Linked DNA regions of Homo sapiens: region 2 is linked to region 1. Evidence: promoter capture Hi-C in 16 types of primary human blood cells and fetal thymus (Javierre and others, 2016). All regions are on one chromosome and are shown on one strand. Each heading gives the region's core, a stretch centred on a gene start or on the middle of the fragment in contact. The rest is flanking DNA. Distances are from core to core; before and after follow the strand shown.

Region 1 (2,948 bases), core at 331-2,830:
TATACCTGTGCATTTTGAACCATATAAATGTATTACCTATTAGAAAACAACTAAACAAAAAGGTTAAAACATGACTGTATTGGCATTATATGATCCATGTCTGAGTGGCAAATCTTATCACCAGTGGCTGACACGCAAACAGTTCTCATTTCCCTACCTATAGTGTACCATGAGAAGGTAAGGCACTACTGCAATGTGAGCTCTTCGAGGATGACACATTTTTGTCTTTTTCACGGATACATTTTCTGGTAGCTGTTCTTTGTTACTTTTACAGTTTGTCTCCTCATTTTTACTATAATATTTTCCTATCCTTATTATAGAATCTTGGTATTCCTATTGTAGCATCTTTGTATCAATGCTGTGCCAATTCCTTTATTTAGCAGAAAAATGGAATTTGTATCCTTGACAAGTAAAGCTTAACATATCTGTTTTCAAGTGTACCAAATAAATCCGAATAGGATGAAAATGATCTCAATTAATCTAACATAGGGGAGGTTTTTTTTTTTAAACATCTCACACTGTGCAGTATCAACTTGACTTCTCAACACAGGTTTTCCACTGAAATATACAAATTAAAACAAATGGAAGCCAGAATAAAAAATGATAACAATTTTATTTCTCCCTTCTCAGGAAGATCTTAAGAGCAGCATGAAAGTAAATGTTAAAAGAAAAAAAAAAAAAAAAAGAAGAGGCCAAAAATCATCAGCTGAATGTATTAAAAATGAAGCGCTCACCTGAGAAAGACCACCCCAAAACTGTCTGAAGGCCCCCAAACAGCTAATTAGTTTTGTTTTCTCATCTTCAGGAGTATCCATAAACATGCTAAAAAAATAAAAATTACATTATTTGTCATTCGTTTTAAAAAGGTAATTACACACAATCAGAATAGTGGATCTTATAACCTTCCAACACGAAACTAAGTAAAATCTGACAGACACAATCACATAAAAACACAAAACTCTGCCACGCATACACTCACCCAGGAAAAGCCTCTTCTATAACTTCCGTTTTCTGTAAAAAAAAAAAAAACAAAATGTAAACAATGTTAATTTTAAAAAGGCGCCTCCCTTAGCCAAGTATTACAATGTAACACAGGGCAAGTCACCTTAATCAGCTCTGAAACTATCAATACCTGTCTGGCCTGTCACTGTATCGATTTCAAAGGATACAATGAACTTGACAGCAGTTTGAGAATCACTAAACTTCCCCGCATACAACCTCGGTGTCAAAACAAGGGAATAAAAAGGGAGGCGTGAGAGGAGGTTGCCCAGGCCAGTTTCCTTGGTCGGCTGCCCCCGCGTCTCCCCGTCCCCAAGCCGTAGTCCTGGATGGCCGGCAGCTGCACTCACCACCACCTCTTCGAAAATGCTCTGCAGTTGCGTCTCCATCTGTACTATCACCCCCGCCTTTCCAGGGTGCCCGGCAAGGCCCGGATCAGACTCGAGCTCTGGGAATATAGGGGCAGAGGGGCGGAGACCTCTGGAGGAAACCGTAGCTCCTCGGCGTCGCTTCCTCCCCCAGCGCTTTACCTGGAGCGTTCCCTCCCGAGCCCAGCCAACAGCAGGAACCTGTACGGAAGACGGGAAGGGCCCGGTACGCGCCGTTTGCAAACCCCGCAGAAACCAGCGGCGCCACCAGAAGGTTCCGTCTGTGGAGAAGGGCGGCCCGCAAGCCGGACGAGAGCGCCCCCAAACGGAACCTTGAGCCCAAGGACCCCGGAGGCATCGTCGACCGCAGGCCGCCACCTCCCGGCTGGAGAAGGAGTTGCTTCCTGTTCGGGGCTAACCCGCTTGCAGACTGAGAAATGAAAAGTTTGGAACCCAGAAGCTGCAGCCTGCGGAAAATGCTGGAGCCGCAGCCGACACCAAGTTGATGTCTGTGAGCAGCTGACCTTCTGGACCTCCATCAGCGGCCTGCAGCCAGGAGCTGAAGCCACAGAGACGGTGTCTTCTCAGCTATGATAACCTCAGTGCAAATGTAATTGATTGACTTTTGAATGCCAAACCAATTTTGCTTCTATGGTATAAATGCTACTTGGTCATAATATATTATCCTTTTTAATATATTGCTAGATTCTATTTGCTATTATATTGTTGAGAGTATGTGTTTTTCTTCATATGCCACCATCATCACCAACCCCTAAAACATCTGTTATGTCTTGAATGATCAGCTTTCTTTGCCTCATAAAGAAAATTGTTGATGAGAGTCATAGACATCCAAAGGCCTTTCACTTCTTTGACGGTTGTGAAATGCCACAAACTGCTAAGCATGAACTACTCCTTTGTAGCTGCTAAGTGATGAGCTGATGACTCCCCATTCATGGTTTTGTTATACAAGTGTCTGACCTGGCATAAATTTAGTTTTCTAACAACTTTAATATGCACATGCAACCATGTTGTCCACACAATAGCTACTAAAAGCTGAAAAGAAATAATTCAGATTTCCTGCTGGAGAAAAACTTGAAAAGTTAGGCTTAGGGTATTGTTTGCTAGGGTTGCCATAACAAAATACCACAGACTGGGTGGCTTAAACAACAGAAATTTCTTTTCTTGTAATTCTGGAGGCTGGAAGTCTGAGGTTGAGGTTGATAGGGTTAGTTTCTATAGAGGCCTCTGTCCTTGGCTTGTAGATGACCTTCTTCTCCTTGTGTCTTCACATGGTCTTCCCTTTGTACATGTCTGTGTCGTAATTTTCTCTTCCTAGAAGGACATCAGTCAGGTTAGGGCCCATGTATCTACTCTAAAGAGCTTTAGCTTAGTTGAAGACATAGACATTTTAAACCATAATAGAGTGTGATATGTGCAATACTAGTGATGCTAATAAAGTGCCAGGGAGAAAAGGAGGAAATACAAATTTTTCTACAGAAAGGAATTTAGAAAGATACCTAGGGGAGTTTGCTTAGATTGCTGTGAACAGCATACTATAAACTGGGGGGTAATTTGAGTCTG
Region 2 (2,948 bases), core at 305-2,804, 500 kb before region 1:
CAAAAAAAAAAAAAAAAGGAAATAATTAAAAAATTTAAACTAATTACAGAAAAATGTACTTATCATAGAATTATTTTTAACACAGAAAAACTGAGATGAATTTAAATGAGGTTGAACAATGACATTGGCAATTGGTCAAATACATTATGATATATTTATATAAGGATATAATATGCATGATTGAGCTGGGTGCGGTGGCTCACGCCTGTAATCCCAGCACTTTGGGAGGCCGAGGTGGGTGGATCACTTGAGGTCAGGAGTTCGGGACCAGCCTAGCCAACATGGTGAAATTTGGTCTCTACTAAAAATACAAAAATTAGCCAGGTGTGGTGTCAGGTGACTGTAGTCCCAGCTACCAGGGAGGCTGAGGCAGGAGAATTGCTTGAACCCGAGAGGCGGAAGTTGCAGTGAGCCAAGATCATGCCACTGCACTCTAGCCTGGGTGACAGAGCAAGACTCTGTCAAAAAAAAAAAAAAATGCATGATTGAAAGAATAATATAAAATATAGAAGAATGCTTAATGACATGAGAAATTAGTCACAATATCTTGTAAAAGACAAAAGTAGCTTATGATGCCATAATGTGACATGATTTCATTTTTATAAAATATATGCTGCAGGAGTATGTGTTTATATGTGTATGTATATCTATGTCTAAAAAGATACAATTATAGATAATTTTACATTTTATTCCATAAGTTTTTCTGAATTTAAAAATATCATAAAACAACATGTTACTTACATAAAATTTTAGATTTGTAGTTAGAAATATTTAAAATAATTTAAAATGTTGCATTCTGTTATTAAATATTATCAGGCCCTTCAACTGTGTCTGACTACTGAAATAAGTCTATTATTAAATAGGTGTAGTGCTTTCTTAAAAATATTATACTCAAACATTAATTGAAAAGCTTACATGTTAAACACATATTCTTCTTCCAGCAAAATGAAATGTCACCCCGAGTTACCTTGGGTCACCAAGGGTCCCAGTTAGCTTTGTACTGATATTTGGCCGTGTCTTGTAGAACTGCATGATGTCATCCTTTTTTGTAACCATTTGCAACTTTAGTTTCTATGGGGACCAAGGAACATCCTAGGGCAAGAATTAAAACAGAGTCAATTGTTTTGGTAGAAATTCACTAGGTCAGGACCGTATCACAGAAGAGAAATGAGGGACCTGAAGAGAGAACTCACCATAAAGAAAGGAGTCGGGCAGGGTGAATGAGTCAATTTAGTAGTAGTTCCTGAAAGTCAGAAATGGGTCATGTTTCAGGAACAGTGTGGCAATCTGAACCTGAACACTTCCCATCCAATTATTTCAGCAATCATTGTACCTTGCCCTCTGGGGGAAATGGGGCAGTGTCTGTAAAGAAACTTGCTGTATCTCAAGGAATTCTGTAATTCTTATAGGTCCCAAAAATCTTCTGTGATGCAGCTCAACCTGCTCTACTCTTAGCAGAGTGTAATGTGTAGGGAGAAGTTGTTCTTTTCTCTTTTTTTGAGATGGAGTTTCACTCTTGTTGCCCAGGCACAATCTTGGCTCACTGCACCTCTGCAACCTCTGCCTCCTGAGTTCGAGCGATTCTCTGCTCCAGCCTCCTGAGTAGCTGGAATTACAGGCATGTGCCGCCACGCCTGGCTAATTTTGTATTGTTAGTAGAGACAGGGTTTTGCCATGTTGGTCAGGCTGGTATCAAACTCCTGACCTCAGGTTGTCCACCCGCTTCGGCCTTCCAAAGTGCTGGGATTACAAGCGTGAGCCACTGTGCCCAGCTGACCTTGTTCTTTTCATTTGCAAGAGATGTCACCATGAAGACTGGGAGAATCCACTGTGGCCAGGTGAATTAGCAGGCAGCTGATGTGCGCGAGGGCAGAGGACTTTCCGGAGTCAAGATTGGACAAATGGAACTCAGTGAAGCAAGGGCTGGGAACAGGTGGTAGCTTAGAATGATTCATTAGATTAGTTTTGCCAGACACCACTTGGAAACCCAAAAGTATTTTGGAGGAATTTCACAAAGGACTGGCGTCTTGGCATGAGTTGGTAGGTTCATTTAGCTATTAAGATTTAGATGTTAATGTTATACTTGCAGTTGGCTTTGCAGGGAAAAAAAGAAAAAAATAGAAATTAAAAAATTTTTAAAAAAGAAAAAACATTTAGATGTTAAAGTTAATGTTGGCTAATTTTTAGCCTTAAGCTGGAGAAGCTTGTTCAGGCGTGAGCAGGTATATGCAAACCTATCCTGAAGGGTTGTGGGAGCTGAGAGGCTGAAGAAAGTGACTGACAAATCCAGTTTTTCAGAAAGAAATATTTAACAGGGTCTTATGAACCAAAGTGACTCTCCAGAGGCCATGAGATTACACATCCTCGCATCCACCCTCCAGAAAGTATTCTAAGACTTGGGCAGTTGGTCCCATCTCAAACTTATGACCACTGGGGAGGTCAGATAAGCATCTTTATGAGGGGTTGTCTATGCTAGATGCTTGGTTTAAAAACCTTGCTGCAGAACACCTTTGCATGCAGGAGCCAGACATTGCTCTTCATGGAGGTTTTGCTTCAAGATGGCGCCACTCTTGCCACGCAACAGGCTGTTTGCCAACAAAACTGTAGGACATTAAGATTACCCGTGATATTGTTTCTCTTTCTTTCTTTTTTTTTTTTTTTTTGAAATTTATCTGGGAGTGCTGCTTTATTTTTTGACAAATCTGAGTACTTAATGGATCTGGATGCTTATAAAAGTTTTATTCATTCATTGAATGTCTATTCATTGAGAAATCTCTATGCATTTGGGAATACGAAGACTTTAAAACATAGTCTTTGCCTTCTAGTGGCGTAAAGTCTAATGTATGAAACAGAAAAATGTGGCAAAAGGGATGGTCAGAGCGGGCACAAGGAGTATTAAAGCCCTCAGGTGGAGTACCTAACCCAAGTAGAAGGGTGGGGTCAGGGAC

The links. Contacts are between HindIII fragments. The CHiCAGO score rates a contact against its expected background, and 5 or more counts as called.
Region 2: a contact is called between a fragment that was not itself captured here and the fragment with the promoter of MED23 in region 1, in 1 of 17 cell types (total CD8 T cells). The highest score is 7.4, in total CD8 T cells.

Annotation. Positions count from the first base shown.
Region 1 is chr6:131,626,662-131,629,609 of GRCh38, forward strand. MED23 (mediator complex subunit 23) reads right to left here and starts at 1,581. Exons shown (of 29, transcript NM_004830.4): 1 at 1,350-1,581; 2 at 980-1,011; 3 at 735-822. The coding sequence starts at 1,388. RefSeq lists enhancers at 1,221-1,270, 1,401-1,570. The HindIII fragment of the contact is 7,493 bases long and covers 414-2,948 here.
Region 2 is chr6:131,128,822-131,131,769 of GRCh38, forward strand. LOC102723445 (a long non-coding RNA gene) reads right to left here and starts at 1,540. Exons shown (of 4, transcript XR_428022.3): 1 at 1,194-1,540; 2 at 916-1,092. It also overlaps a transcript of AKAP7 not described here. The HindIII fragment of the contact is 1,293 bases long and covers 909-2,201 here.